Linked DNA regions of Homo sapiens: region 2 is linked to region 1. The links are contacts of gene promoters, found by promoter capture Hi-C in blood cells and fetal thymus (Javierre and others, 2016). All regions are on one chromosome and are shown on one strand. The core of a region is centred on a gene start or on the middle of the fragment in contact, and the rest is flanking DNA. Distances in the headings are between cores, read along the strand shown.

What was found. The method cuts DNA at HindIII sites, captures the fragments that hold promoters and counts their contacts. A CHiCAGO score of 5 or more calls a contact.
Region 2: a contact is called between the fragment with the promoter of SRSF9 here and a fragment that was not itself captured in region 1, in 3 of 17 cell types (M2 macrophages, erythroblasts and M1 macrophages). The highest score is 7.4, in M2 macrophages.

Annotation. Positions count from the first base shown.
Region 1 is chr12:120,557,899-120,565,560 of GRCh38, reverse strand. It overlaps RNF10 (ring finger protein 10), which reads right to left. Exons shown (of 17, transcript NM_014868.5): 7 at 4,675-4,835; 8 at 2,491-2,616; 9 at 1,938-2,214; 10 at 1,618-1,751; 11 at 372-489; 12 at 32-133. Among named protein-coding and RNA genes, the nearest start is that of POP5, 20 kb to the left of the region's middle. The HindIII fragment of the contact is 487 bases long and covers 3,459-3,945 here.
Region 2 is chr12:120,466,097-120,473,758 of GRCh38, reverse strand. SRSF9 (serine and arginine rich splicing factor 9) reads left to right here and starts at 4,011. Exons shown (of 4, transcript NM_003769.3): 1 at 4,011-4,337. The coding sequence starts at 4,150. It also overlaps a transcript of DYNLL1 not described here. RefSeq lists silencers at 4,053-4,352, 4,603-4,772. The HindIII fragment of the contact is 9,777 bases long and covers 2,527-7,662 here.

The sequences.
Region 1 (7,662 bases), core at 2,453-4,952:
GCTAGTCAAAGATGAAAGTTCCTGAACTTACACTTGCCCTGTTTCTTGTTCTCCTCTATCTCAATCCTGCGCTCTCGGCGGCGTTCCTCCCGAGCCTTCTTTTGGCGCTGACGTTTCCTCTTCTCAATGTCATCTGCAGATTGGTCAGGTTGTAAAGAGGTAGACCCAGGACAACATGGTCATTACCTCCTCCCAGTATTAGCAGCTAAACCCACAACAGTAGGCCCAGCTGGACTAGATGAACAGATGAAGTGTTTAGGAGGTACTAAGACTCATGATACAGTTCCATAAGTTTCCTCCCCCACTGGGTGTCTAGCCACAAGAATCCCTGAACCCTACTATAAAGAGAAGCAGAGCAGGGGCATTCTCACCTGAGAACATCTCTAGGGTTTCCTTAGAGACCACAGGAGGTTGCAAAGCCAGTTCACAGATGCTGAACTCACAGGTGAGTGGCAAGTGAGAGAGATATCTGTGACGCTGTCGAACATCCTACATTGGAAAAAGGACCAATACTCAACAAAAGCAAGCCTAACTCTGAAAGCAGGGGGTCCTAACCCCGATATCCAACAATATATACATAACACAGCCAGCACTGGGGCTGGAAACAGTAGTGCTCAATTATCCTCATTTTGAAAAGCCAAAGAGAAACTGTCAACCTACAGCAAGGTGGAATAAGCAACCAAATCCAGTTATTTTTGGTTTGTACTGCAAAGGAGTGAACTGAGTCCAGCAACAAATAATCTAAAGCCCATCAGCTGTTTCTGATTTTTTCAAGGCCCCACAGCTGAGGGGGACGAACAGAGAAGATAAAGTTATTTGTTGGCAGAAAAACAGAACAGAAAAAAACCTGGGAACCACTGACAGAATAAATAACTGGGAAGGAAGATAAAGCAGATCTCCCTATTGAAAGACACTTGGCCTGAAATAGTAGAAAATGAAGCCCAATTTTTTTTTTCTGAGACATGGTCTTGCTCTGCCGCCCAGGCCAGCTCACTGCAGACTTGATCTCCCCAGCTCAGGTGATCCTTCTGCCTCAGCCTCCTGAGGAGCTGGGACAACAGGTGCACATCATCATACCCAGCTAATTTTTTTTTGTATTTTTTGTAGAAATGCCCTGGCTGGTCTGAAACTCCTAGCCTCAAGCAATCTGCCTGAGTAGGCCTCCCAAAAGTGCTGGGATTACAGGTGTGAGCTACCACATCCAGCCCATTTATTTTCATTTCTATTCTTTTTCTGCATATGTTTGATGAAAAATTTATAGTACTCAAAGAGTCTAATTTTAAATCTTACAACAAATTTGTGACATTTCTCCCAAGCAATAAGGAGGATAAGAAACAAAAATAAACTCCATCTTAAATAAAAGAAATATCTATATCCCCAAACTACAATCAATGAACCAGAGAAGCAGGGAACAGCATTAACTGATTTAACAGAACCCTGGCATGCTGAGGGGACACTTCACTTACAAAGAATTCACAGCACCATCACTGACAGAAAGACTAAAAATACAAAAACTAAAGGCCTTGAAGGTTTGTGAACTTAGGATGGCTAGGCCTACCTCAAAGAGATTAGGTTAATACTGCTGCCTGACCCTCCATTTCTACAGGAAGGCCTCACCTCAGACATGGAGTAGCCAGCAATCTCCACCACAGTTGCTGAGATCTTCTCGGGGCTCCTCTCCAGGCTGCCGTACTCCCGCACGAGGCAGCGCACATTCACAGGGTGCAGGAACATATGCTGTCCATCTTCCGCTGAGGACAAGGGGCTCTATCACACACCAGTCTTGGCCAGTCCCCAGGAGGCTCCCCACCCCTCCCCATGCCCAAGGGCTCAAGCCACCCAAGCCACAGGATCTAGTGGCGCTCCTCTGCTTAGAGCACCGGGTCACCTCTGAAACACCTCTGCGGCAACCCAGCCCTCTCTTCCGGCACCCTCACCTTGGTAAAAGTAGTAACAAGGAGAGCTGCTGAGGCGTGTGAAGCCTGACTTGGTGATGGGTTCCTGCTGGCTGGACTCAGTGCAAATGGTCCCCTCTTTAAGATTGTCATCTGCTAACTCCAAGTCATCACAGGCCTCTGGCAACCCCTCAGGCTCTGGTTCAGACACTGCTTCCTCCTCTTCTACCAGAGGGAGAGCAAGAGGTCTAGAAGGAGTGTCCAGAGAACAAACTTCCGTGGTTTCTTCATCGAAGGCAGACAGATACTCCAGCACACCCTGTTGCAGCAAACTCTAAGTCAACAGAAAGGATATCTCCTGCTTTCCGAAAGCAATGTGGCAAATGCAGACCTAAGAGCCAAGCTCCCTAGATGTTTATCTTAGCTGTCGTGTTCACTGATTTAACACCCCTGGGGAAAGAACTAATAACAAGCATACAGAAAATACTCATTGTCCCCTCTTCTCTTGAGAAGGTTTAGATCTCACAGTAATGCCTACCAGCTCAATGACAGCATTTGAGGAACGGCAGCCACTTAGTAACAGGAACACACTAACCTTCCTGGGTTGAAAAACAGACTCCTTCGCCAAGGGAGCCATCAGCACCAGTTGTTCCAGAGCAGCCACAACACCAGTGACCTCCCTTCTGCTTCCGGCCAATCCCGACAGAGCCTCTTCCCGAGTCTAACGTGGCCAGAGAGAACACCAGAGAAGGTTAAGTTTCCAGACACACACTTAGCTTGAAGGGCAAGGGCTTAGAATGGCCTCTCAACAGGACCAAAAGTTAAAAGGCAATGAGACCCAATGGGAAGGAATTAGGTGCTTAAATATCTCAACTTTGAGGGAAACAGGAAGCAAAAAGCATGCAATACCCACTAAGGATTGGAATCTGCTTAGAATCTGACACTGGGGAGTGTAAATTAGTTCAATCATTGTGGAAGACAGTGTGGTGATTCCTCAAAGACCTAAAGACAGAAATAAAATTTCACCCAGCAATCCCATTACTGGGTATATAGCCAAAGGAATATAAATCATTCTACTGTAAAGACACATACGGCCAGGTGTGGTGGCTCATGCCTGTAATCCCAGCACTTTGGGAGACTGAGGTGGGCGGATCACCTGAGGTTGGAAGTTCAAGACCACCCTGACCAACATGGAGAAACCCCATCTCTACTAAAAATACAAAATAACCCAGGCATGGTGGGGCATGCCTGTAATTCCTGCTACTCAGGAGGCTGAGGCAGGAGAATCACTTGAACCTTGGAGGCAGAGGTTGTGATGAGCCGAGATCACGCCACTGCACTCCAGCCTGGGCAACGAGAGCAAAACTCTGTCTCAAAAAAAAAAAAAAAAAAAAGAAAGAAAGAAAAAGAAAAACCAAATATCGCACACATGTTCTCACTTCTAAGTGGGAGCTAAATGATGAAACATGGACACATAGAGGGGAACACACACTGAGGCCTATCAGAGGGTGGAGAGTGGGAGGAGGGAGGGGATCAGGAAAAATAACCAATGGGTACTAAGCTTAATACCTGGGTGAAAATCTGTATAACAAACCCCCATGACACAGGTTTACCATGTAACAACCTGCATTTGTACCCCTGAACTTAAAAGTTAAAAAAAATAAAAGAGAATCTGACACAAACAACACTATACAAAAAACTTCCAGAACAGAAATCTAAGAACATGAAACTAACCTAGTTTTTACAAACTATGCTCAGACAGAGGTCCAGAGTAGTAGGAAGGATTTAGCTAACTCCACCTCAGCCTGGACAGCTCTAATTCTATGTAGCCTTTCTTATGCCTGTAATGGCATTTGAACAAATACGGCTGCAACGTATTATAGAAAGAAAGCAAAAGTTAAATACACAGGACTCTACCCAAGGAGCCCTTGGGAGTCAGGGAGAAGGGAATTCAAATACCAGCTGCATCCCTTACTAGCAAATTACCCAACCCAGGATTCAGTTTCCTCATCCATGAAAGGGGATAGTTCTATCTACCACACTAGAAGCTTAAGTGAGATAAATGTGTATAGCACAAGTCCTATCAAATGCTGATCACTCAATAAATATGGGCTTCTATTGCTCTAAGCTAGATCAGTGGTTCCAGGAGTGTGGTCTGGGGATGAGCAGCCATCAGAATCACCCTAGAACTTGTTATATGCAAATTACTGAGCCTACTGAGCTTAACCTATGCAATCAATATCTCAAAGTGGGACCTAACAACCAGTGGTTGTGATGCTTCAAGAATCTCTGTTGTGGAAGATAAAAGACCCAGGGAATTCTGTTCTTGTGTAATTCTTGCCGTTTCAGGTACTCCTAAGGCATACTGGGCAGGCCATAATACTTTCTCCACAATGTCTTTCAAAACACCTCTAGAATAGAATCTTAAGTATTTTCCCAGAAAACAAAGAACTCTAACTTGCTTTAAGAACATAGCTAATCTAAAAAACTCCACTGTCACAATTAGTTATAAAATCATTTTGACTTGCTCCTTTCAGCTCTAGAAAGAGCTTTAAAAGCCCTAGGTTAAACCTTCTCTACTGTCATCAAACAAAGCCCAAAACAAATTGGCTTTTTTAGCCATTCTCTGCTTATTGTCTTAAATGTGGAATGGAACTAACTTAATCCCCAGCGTCCATCATCTCACCCCCGACAGAGTGAAAAGGTTTAGCATTTCTGGTTTTCACCACAGAACGCCGAGAAAGTGAAAAGGTTTAGCATCTCCAATGCATCCTCTCACCTTGAGCTCCTGGATAGCTGCCTCAATAAAGCAGGACTCGGGAGTGTGCTTCTCCTCTGCCAGCTGCTGCTCTAGTGCTACTTTCTCCTCCAGAACTACCCGGTGCAGCACCTGCTCCTTAGAGGCCAGCAGCAACTTGGAGTACTGGCTGTGCTGTTCATCTATAAGAATGCCAGCAAGATCAAAGAAATGCAACATTCAAAGCTCACGATGGTGTAGCTAAATAGGAATTTTCAAATACAGCCTTTTCTCTGGGGTGAAAATGGGGTAATTTAGCATGATTTCCTAGAAAATAATTTAACAATGGTCTTAAAATAAGGTCTGTAGCTCTGCTCTTGATATAAGAAATCTAAGAAACCCAGAGATGTAGTCAAAACTTTAGTCACGCGTTTATTGTTACAGCATTGTATGTAATATCAGAAAAGCTCAAACCAGCCAGGCACCATGGCTCACACCTGTAATCCCAGCACTTTGGGAGGTCAAGGCGGGTGGATCACTTGAGATCAAGAGTTCGAGACCAGCCTGACCAACATGGTGAAACCCCGTCTCTACTAAAGATACAAAAAAGTTAGTCGGGCCTGGTAGGGCATGCCTGTAATCCCAGCTACTTGGGAGGCTGAGGCAGGAGAATCGCTTGAACCCAGGAGGCAGAGGTCGCAGTGAGCCAAGATCATGCCACTGCATTCCAGCTTGGGCAACAAAAGCGAAACTCTGTCTCAAAAAAAAAAAAAACAAAAAAAACCACACACAGAAAAAGAAAAGCTCAAACCAACCAGTAAAACCAACAATAAAGAATAAAGAAATGGTGGACCAGCGCAGTGGCTCACACCTATAATCCCAGTACTTTGAGAGGCCAAGACAGGAAGATTGCTTGAGTTTAGAAGTTTAAGACCAAGCCAGCTGGGTGTGGTGGCTCACGTTCAGCACTTTGGGAGGCTGAGGCAGGTGGATCACCTGAAGTTAGGAGTTCGAAACCAGCCTGGCCAACATAGAGATACCCTGTTTCTATTAAAAATACAAAAAATTAGCTGGGCGTGGTGACGGGCGCCTATAATCCCAGCTACTAGGGAGGCTGGAGTAAGAAAATCGCTTGAACCCAGGAGGCAGAGGTTTCAGTGAGCCAAGATCGCACCATTGCACTCCAGCCTGGGCAACAAGTGCAAAACTCTGCCTCAAAAAATAAAATTAAAAAAAAATAACACCAGGCGGAGTACGGTGGCTCACACCTGTAATCCCAGCACTTTGGGAGGCTGAGGTAGGCGGATCACAAGATCAAGAGATTGAGACCATGCTGGCCAACATGGTGAAACCCCGTCTCTACTAAAAATACAAAAACTAGCCAGGTGTGGTGGTGCGTGCCTGTAATCTCAGCTACTCAGGACGCTGAGGCAGGAGAATCTCTTGAACCTGGGAGGCGGAGATTGCAGTGAGCCGGGATTGCACCACTGCATTCCAGCCTGGCAACAGAGTGAGACTCCATCTCAAAACAAAAACAAAAACAAAAAAAGCACAACACACACACACAAAAAAAACAAAAATTAGCCGGGCGTGGTGGCAGGTGCCTGAAATGCCAGCTACTCAGGAAGCTGAGGAAGGAAAATCGTTTGAACCGAGGAGGTGGAGGTTGCAGTGAGCCGAGATCACACCATTGCACTCCAGCCTGGGAAACACAGCAAGACTCCGTCTCAAAAAAAAAAAAAAAAAAAAAAAGAGTAGTTCAAGACCAGCCTATCAACATAGCAAGACCTCATCTCTGCTAAAAATAAAAATAAAAAATTAACTATACCTGCATGCCCAGTTAATTTTTTAAAATAAAAAAAATAATTTAAAATTAAAAGTTAATTTAATTAATTAAATTAATTTTAATTATTTTAATGAATTTAATTAATTAAAAGTAATTATTGCCACTGCACTCCAGCCCAGGCGACAAAGTGAGATTCCATCTCAAATAAAGGGTTAATGACATGATGGTATGTTCATTAACGAAAATTCTGTGGACACTAAAAGTGGTTTTCTTGGCCGGTCACAGTGGCTCACGCCTGTAATCCCAGCACTTTGGGAGGTAAGGCGGGCAGATCACTTGAGCTCGGGAGTTCGAGACTAGCCTGCCAACATGGTGAAACCCCGTCTCTACTAAAAATACAAAAAAAATCAGCCAGGCATGGTGGCGGGCGCCTGTAGTCCCAGCTACTCGGGAGGCTGAGGCACGAGAATCGCTCAAACCCGGGAGGCAGAGGTTGCAGTGAGCCAAGATCATGCCACTGCACTCCAGCCTGGGTGACAGAGCCAGACTCTGTCTCAAAAAAAAATATATATATACATATTATATTATATATCTATAAATAAAATAAAAATAAAATTTATCAGTCTTTTACAGCATCTATCATTTCAGCCTGGTTCAAAAATCCACCCATATCTGAGGATTTTTTTTTAATTAATACACATTTTTAATGTTTTAAGTTGCTAAACATTTAAACAGTCAAAATCACTAGGAAAAAAATATTACACACACACATTTACCACCCAAATGAGAACACACAATCCTTCAGACAGATGCACATCTGAGGATTTATAAAGAAATTGTCCTATATTTTCTTTTAAATAAAAAGGTTAAAACTTTTGGATTTTTTACATTTACTTCTTCAATCTATCTGGAATTAATTTCATGAATGGTATGAAATAGGAATCTAATTTTATTTTTTCCTTAGGGAGAATCAATTGTTTCAATACCATTTATTGAGAAATCTATCTTTTCCCCAGAGACTGAAATGCTATTTTAATCAAATGCTCATTTCTGCATGAAACACAGGGAATACATCTCTGGCATTCATTGTGAGCACTTATCACACTCTTTATCCTAATGGCCAGTCTACCAGTCTGTCTCTTCTATCGGACTACTGAGTTTCTTGACGACAGGCACCAAGACTGGCTGACCACAGAACCTCTAAGATTGGGCACAGTGAAAGACACTATGTAATAAAACCTTGT
Region 2 (7,662 bases), core at 2,762-5,261, 92 kb after region 1:
GCTGAGACCACAGGTGCACGTTACCATGCCTAGATAATTTTTTAATTTTTTTTTTTTTTTTTTTTTGAGACAGAGTCTCGGTGTTGACCAGGCTGGAGTTCAGTGGCGCAATCTCGGCTCACTGCAACCTCTGCCTCCCGGGTTCAAGCAATTCTCCTGCCTCAGCCTCCAAAGTAGCTGGGATTACAGGTGTGCGCCACCACCTCCGACTAATTTTTGTGTTTTTAGTAAAGATGAGGTTTTGCCATGTTGACCAGGCTGGTCTCGAACTCCTGACTTCAAGTGATCCACCCACCTTGACCTCCCCAAAGTGCTGGGATTACAGGCATGAGCCACTGGGCCTGGCAATTTTTAAGTTTTTTGTAGAGATAGGGGTCTCACTACATTGCCTAGCCTGGTCTCAAACTCCTGGACTCAAGCCATCCTCCTGCCTCAGCCTCCCAAAGTGCTGGGATTACTGCCACTGCACTCAGCAGTCATGCCCTCATTTTTGTCTGAAATGCCCTTCCCTCTTCCCCCTGGTTAACTCCTACTGGTTCTTCAAGACTCTAAACATCTCCTCCCAGAAGCCTTCCTTAGAATCTCTAAGACTGTGGTAGGTGACCCTCCGATGTAGTCTCAAGCAGCTTATCCTTATCACAACTGTACTCTACATGACCGAATAGCAACCTATATACACAACTCAAGGACAGAGCTGTATTATTGCATGCCCTGGGCCTCATACAGGACCTAAATCATAAATAATGTTGAATATCTAGATGAACAAAAAGTTTAAAAGGTGTCCCTGCCTAGAGTCTCTGGCCTTAGCAGAGAATGGAACCTATGAACCCTTTGAACATGAAGTCATAATTGTGGTCTCATTTGTGTTCTAACTGCAAAGGTCAGTACAGGAATAAAGGGGGTTTCATGGATGATCATAAATGCCTCCTAAGGATTTAGCTGTGCTCTATCTAATCCAAGAAGCCTGTACTAACCACATCCCTACATTTTCTGCTGGGTAACTGAACTCCTTTGGAGATTGTATGCTGCAGGACATTGCACAATTAAAGCTGAATTATTATTATTTGCAAGCAGTTTTCCACCTACAGTCCTATTGAGTCACTTAGCTGACTCTATTTCTCTCTCCCTAGGAGACTGCCCAATTGTCTCCAACAGCACTTTTTTTTCCTTTTTTGTCTTTCCAGGCAACAATCACATAGGAGTGGTAGGACTCAGAGAATGGTATTAATACACCTAAGCACACCACCCAAAATGAGAAGGCATCTGGACTTTCGGATGCCTATAGGATATGTAAGCTCCTATAAGGCTGCACACTTAGACTCGAGATCATATTTGGCCAGGGCTCTTTCCTGCTTGTCTAGAGAACAGCTAGATGCTTTACATAATCCAGAATACAACAGATAGTTATAATGGTTTTATTTTAGGAATCATTTATTATGTTTTATTCCAATTATAAAAGTAGTGCATGCTAATTACAATTTGAGAAATACAGAAAAGCATAAATAAAAACATAGAAATCACTGCCATCAAGAGATATCTCCACAACCACAACATTTGGAAAGCTTTTTCTATTTTTTTTTTGTTACAAGCAGCAAATACACTATATATGTGTATACATTAAACACCACTTTCAATTCACTTTAACTGTAAATTACTGTGACTTTAATATCTCTGTCATATTAAAAACATGACTTAATAATTGTGTAACATTCAAAGTTAATGTGTTGAGCCACTCCCTTATTATCAAGTTTAATTTTTTTAATTGCACAGAATGCAATGATAAATATACACATGTAATTTATTATGAGAATCTCTTGCTTATTTCCGTCTGATAAAAATCCTACAAGCAGCTGGGCGCGGTGGCTCACGCCTGTATTCCCAGCACTTTGGGAGGCTGAGGCAGGCGGATCACGAGGTCAGGAGATTGAGATCATCCTGGCTAACACGGTGAAACCCTGTCTCTACTAAAAATATAAAAAAATCAGCCGGGCGTGGTGGCAGGCACCTGTAGTCCCAGCTACTCAGGAGGCTGAGGCGGGAGAATGGCATGAACCTGGGAGGCGGAGCTTGCAGTGAGCCGAGATCACGCCACTGCACTGCAGCCTGGGTGACAGTGTAAGACTCCGTCTCAAAACAAACAAACAAAAAATCCTACAAGCAGAATTACAAGATCGAAGGGTATATGTATATTATGAAAGCCTGATGTATACTATCAACTTGTATTCCAAAAAAGATATACACTCAGTAGTATATGTGGGTGTCTAGTCTTTGGTTTGTTTTGATTTTAAAATGCTCAGATGGTATAATGAGAAATCAACTACCTTCTGATTAAATGTGTGGTTTTAGTCCCTTTTTTTGTTTGTTTTTGTTTTGTCTTGTTTTTGAGACAGAGTCTCCCTCTGTCACCCAGGCTGGAGGAGTGCAGTGGCACAATCTCGGCTCACTGCAACCTCTGCCTCCCAGATTCAAGCGATTCTCGTGCCTCATCCTCCCAAGCAGCTGGGACTACAGGCGTGCCACCAAGCTTGGCTAATTTTTTTTTTTTTTTGTATTTTTAGTAGGGGGGCGGGTCTTGCCATGTTGGCCAGGCTGGTCTTGAACTCCTGGCCTCAAGTGATCCACCCACCTCAGCCTCCTAAAGTGCTGGGATTACAGGCATGAGCCACCACGCCCAGCCAGGTTTCATTTTTAATATGAAAAATCTTTATTTATTTTTGAGACAGTCTCACTCTGTCACCCAGGCTGAAGTGCAGTGGCATGATCTCGGCTCACTGCAACCTTCGCCTCCCGGGCTCAAGCAATTCTCCTGCCTCAGCCTCCCGCGTAACTGGGATTATAGGAACACGCCACCACGCCCAGCTAATTTTTGTATTTTTAGTAGAAACGGGGTTTCCCCATGTTGCCCAGGCTAGTCTCGAACTACTGACCTCAAGTGATCCTCCCGCCTTGGCCTCTCAAAGTGTTGGGATTACAGGCGTGAGCCACCGCACCCAGCCTGAACAATCTTTAGGTTAGGAGTATTCCAGCCGGGCGCCGGGCTCAAGCCGGTAATCCAACACTTTGGGAGGCCAAGGCTGGAGGATCGGTTGAGCCCAGGAGTTCGAGACCAGCCTCTCTACAAAAAAAATAGAAAATAAACTAGCTGGACGCAGCGCAGACCCCTCACGGCGCCCCGAGGTGGGAGGATCACCTGAGTCCAGCGAGATCGAGACTGCAGTGAGCCGTGTTCGCGCCATTGCACTCCAGCCTGAGCAACAGAATAAGACCCTGTATCAAAAACAAACAAAAAGTCTTCTGGTGCAAGGCCTCACTGTAAGGTCCCTGGGTTCAATGCTCCGCGTTCTGGGATGTGAATGTGGAAAAGTAAGTGCCAAGGTGGGTGTCTACCTGAGCTCCATAAGGACTCAGTACTTAGGATGGGAGCATGGCTCTGGGTTCCATTCCTGACCCCTCTGTGGCCTCAGACTCTGCCCGGGAGAGGATGAAAAGCACAAGTCGGATGCACTCTATAGTGATCGCTGTGATACTCATTAAGAGTCTTACTCCCTCGACTCCGACAAACTCAAGGCCAAGCTATGGAGTCCATCTCATGCTGACACCGTCAGTTCTGAGCAACTGTAAAATGGGGACAGGGTGGCCCGGGGGCCTACTGACCTGAGGTGGGGGCCGCGACAGCCCGGCCGCTGCGGGGTCAGCCTGCGGTCTCCGCCTGACTCCAGCTCTCCTGCGCCCCGCAGGCCCTGGGCGCTACCCACGTCAGTGAGTGCTCACAAGTCTGTGAGGTAGGCGGCGCCACAGAGAGAAACTGAGGCGCGGGAGCCCAAGCCACTTGTCCAGCGCCTCAGCCGAGCGCGAACCGCGCTCGGGGATGGCATCCACACGGCCCGGCCCCAGGCTCTCCCTGTCAGCGCCCGAAGGCCCTTCGCACCTCCAGGGGGCGCCGGCCTGCGCGCACGCGCAATGGTCGCAGCCGCGTTCTCTTTAAGAGGACTCCTTTTGCCTCCGCCGACCCCTTCGCTTCCGCTCCGCGTTCCCACAATGCAGTGCGGCTGAGCGCCTCGGAGCCCGCGGGGACGCTGCGGGGGGACCCGTGCTGAGGCGGCGGCGGCGACGTGGGCTGCGGCGGGCCCGCGGCGTCGGGCGGTGCGGATGTCGGGCTGGGCGGACGAGCGCGGCGGCGAGGGCGACGGGCGCATCTACGTGGGGAACCTTCCGACCGACGTGCGCGAGAAGGACTTGGAGGACCTGTTCTACAAGTACGGCCGCATCCGCGAGATCGAGCTCAAGAACCGGCACGGCCTCGTGCCCTTCGCCTTCGTGCGCTTCGAGGACCCCCGGTGAGGCCCCCGCGCCCCTGCCCTCTCCTCCTCGGTGCCTGAGGCCCCCGCCTTCCCTGCTGTCCCCTCCCCCAGGGCTCCCCTCCCCCCGGCCTCCCCTCCCCCCGCCTCCGCGCAGACCCCTCACGGCGCCCCCTCACGGGTGGAGGATGAGGCAGCCTCTCCTCGCAGGCCCGGGCCGTCCTTCGCGCCGTCGTCACTTCCTTTATTTTTATTATTCCAATATTTTACTTAGAAACCCAAAAGCTGAGCCTTTGGAGGGCCCAAGCCCGCCTGCACCGGCCTCGGGGGGTCCAAATGAGCCTTGTCCGCCTCCTGCCTGGGGCAGCACCGTAGGGGGAAGCGGCCGCGGGGCAGCGCGGGGGTCGCCGTTCGCCCTTCCCGCTCGCCTCTCCCCCGGCCCGTGCTCGCCGTGGCTGGAGAGCAAGCTGCAGGGTCGCGGATGCCGCTGGAGGTCGTGGAGGGATCTCTGGTGGAATAGCTCGCCGTTCGCGCGCCCCGCCCCGCAGGCCAGGGCCCGGGCTTTGTAAAGGGATCACGGATTCGGGAAAACTTCTAAAACAGCCGGAGTGGGGCTCTGATTTCACTTCCCTCCTTTGATGAGGGAGGCTTGGCGAGATGCTAAAGGTTCCAGGGATTTGGAAACTCTAGATTCCTAACCCCGCTCTAAGGAGTGCTTGTGATTTTGCAAACAGCGTCGGCCCTCAGGCCGGAAAAAGCCCAGGAACTTTCAAAACTGTGGTTGGTGGTGGTTAGCAGCTGCGGCGCTGACCTGGTCACTCCACTCCGGCCAAATAAGAGCCCGCACCCTGTTTTCCTAGCATCATTTGCTCCCGGGGAACGCGGAATGTTCGTAGGGTGTCCGACCTACCTGGGGTGGACGTATTGATAGGGCAAGGGGAGCATCTGAGGAAGGGCAGGCAGGAAGCACCGCGAGGCGTTGATGGCTGAAGAGTCGACTCTGACAGCTCATCCCTAGTATCTCCTCATTTGCCTCAAAACCGGAACTGGGCATTTTTACCCCTAAGCCGGAGAAGGCTATGCCTCGCTTATTTAGTAACCGTGCCATTGTGGTTTTTCAACAGTTGCTATGGGTCAAGTGCCATGGTGTGTATTTAGCTTTTTTTCTTTCCTTCTTATTTTTTTAGATTGATAAATTAGGGGTTTCACCATGTTGCTCAGGCTGGTCTGGAACTCCTGAGCTCAGGTGATTCTCCCGTCTCAGCGGATCAAATTGTTAGGATTACAGGCGTGAGCAACCCGCCCAGCCTGTATTTAGTATTTTTAACAATTTATGAGGTGTAGGTACTATTTTTTTTTTTTTTTTGAGACAGGTCTTCACTCTTGTTGCCCAGGCTGGAGTGCTGTGGTGCGATCCCGGCCCACCGCAACCTCCGCCACCTGAGTTCAAGCGATTCTCCCGCTTCAGCTTCCCAGTAGCTGGGATTACAGGCGCCCGCCATCATGCCTGGCTGATTTTTCTATGTTCAGCAGATACGGGGTTTCTCCATGTTGGCCAGGTTTGTCTTGAACTCCTAACCTCAAGTGATCCACCCACCTCAGCCTCCCAAAATGCTGAGGTTACAGGCCTGAGCCACCACGCCAGGCCGGGATCAATGGATTTGAACTCCCTCTTCTGTTTTTCGAATGCAAACTTACTATATGATACGCTACATTGTCATCTTCCCTCATTCCTTTCATAATAGAAAAACTATCTTTTGGTGTCACTAGATGTGAAGATTCAAGCAAAGCATTTCATGTAGTATCTTATTTAACCATTACAATAACCCTGTGAGATAGGCATACTGTTCACATTAGAGATGTAAAAACTTGATTAAACACTTACCCAGAGATGACTACTAGTAATTTGCAGAATAGTGATTTGAATGCAGGCTAATTTTATTTATTTATTGTATTTATTGAGATGGAGTCTGGCTCTGTCGTGCAGGCTGGAGTGTAGCGGCACAGTCTCAGCTCACTGCAACCTTCGCCTCCTGGGTTCAAGAGATTCTCGTGCCTCAGCCTCCTGAGTAGCTGGGATTACAGCTGCGCGATGCCATGCCCAGCTAATTTTTATCTTTTTAGTAGAGACGAGGGGTTTCACCAGGTTGCCCAGACTGGTCTCAAGCTGCTAACCTCAAGTGATCCACCTCCCAAAGTGCTGGGATTACAGGCATGTGCCACAGCGCCTGGCCTGAATGCTGGCCAGTTTTTATTCAGAGTTGTTCTGACCTCCTAGCAGTTCTGCCTCTCCCAGTCTGCATTTTACGTAGTCAAGGTTGCACTGGATATGGTCATTGTTGCTTTTAGTTCTAAAATCTTACAAGTGATTATGTGCCTGTGACACTGAACAATGCCTTCATTAGCACATTCAGCTCCTCTTGTCCACCCAAGCTCCAAGGTCACACTTTCTACCATCCAATACTGGAGAATCAACGTGGCATTCCTGACTCTCCTAGAGTCCTAGGAAAGACTTAAAGTAATTTTATTGAATATTTATCTCTTTTGGCAAAATTGTATCCAAAGAATGTTTTTTGACAAAAATAGTTCTCCAAACCATGCTGAAAAGGTACACTTAGAGTTCCAAGGCCAGGCGCAGTGGCTTATGCCTGTAATCCTAGCACTTTGGGAGACTGAGGGGAAGGATCGCCTGAGCCCAGGAGTTCAAGACCAGGCTGGCCAGCAGAGGGAGACCTGTCTCTACAAAAAATCCAAAAATTAGCTGGGTGCAGTGGTACACGCCTGTGGCCCTAGCTATTCAGGAGGCTGAGGTGGGAGGATTGCTTGCGCCCAAGAGTTAGAAGCTGCTGTGAGTTATGCTCCAGCCACTGCACTCAGCCTTGGTGACAGAGCAAGACCCCGTTTCAAAAAAAAAAAAAGTTCCACATTCATCACAAAACACTCATTTGCATTTTTCTTTTGTCCTTTGAGCCTTATTTATTTATTTTTTTAAAAGACCGGGTCTCACTATATTACCCAGGCTGGCCTGACCTGGGCTCAAACATCATGCCCAGCTACTTTATTTACCCTCAAATACTCTCCTATCTAACTGGCTACTTTTTTTTTCCTGTTTTTTGGGACAGGGTCTCTGTCACCCAGGCTGGAGTACAGTAGTGTGATCTTGGCTCTGCACTCCCATCTCAGCCTCTCAAGTAGCTGGGACTACAGGCGTGCAACACCATGCCTGGCTAACCGCCTACTTTTTATTTCCATAGACTTTATGGCACTAGGCTTTGTAGAAAAATATTAAGGGGTTAGTGTGTGGTGTGCTTTTCGAGAAAATGCTCACGAAGATTAGAAAAACACTGATGGTTTATTGGCAAAA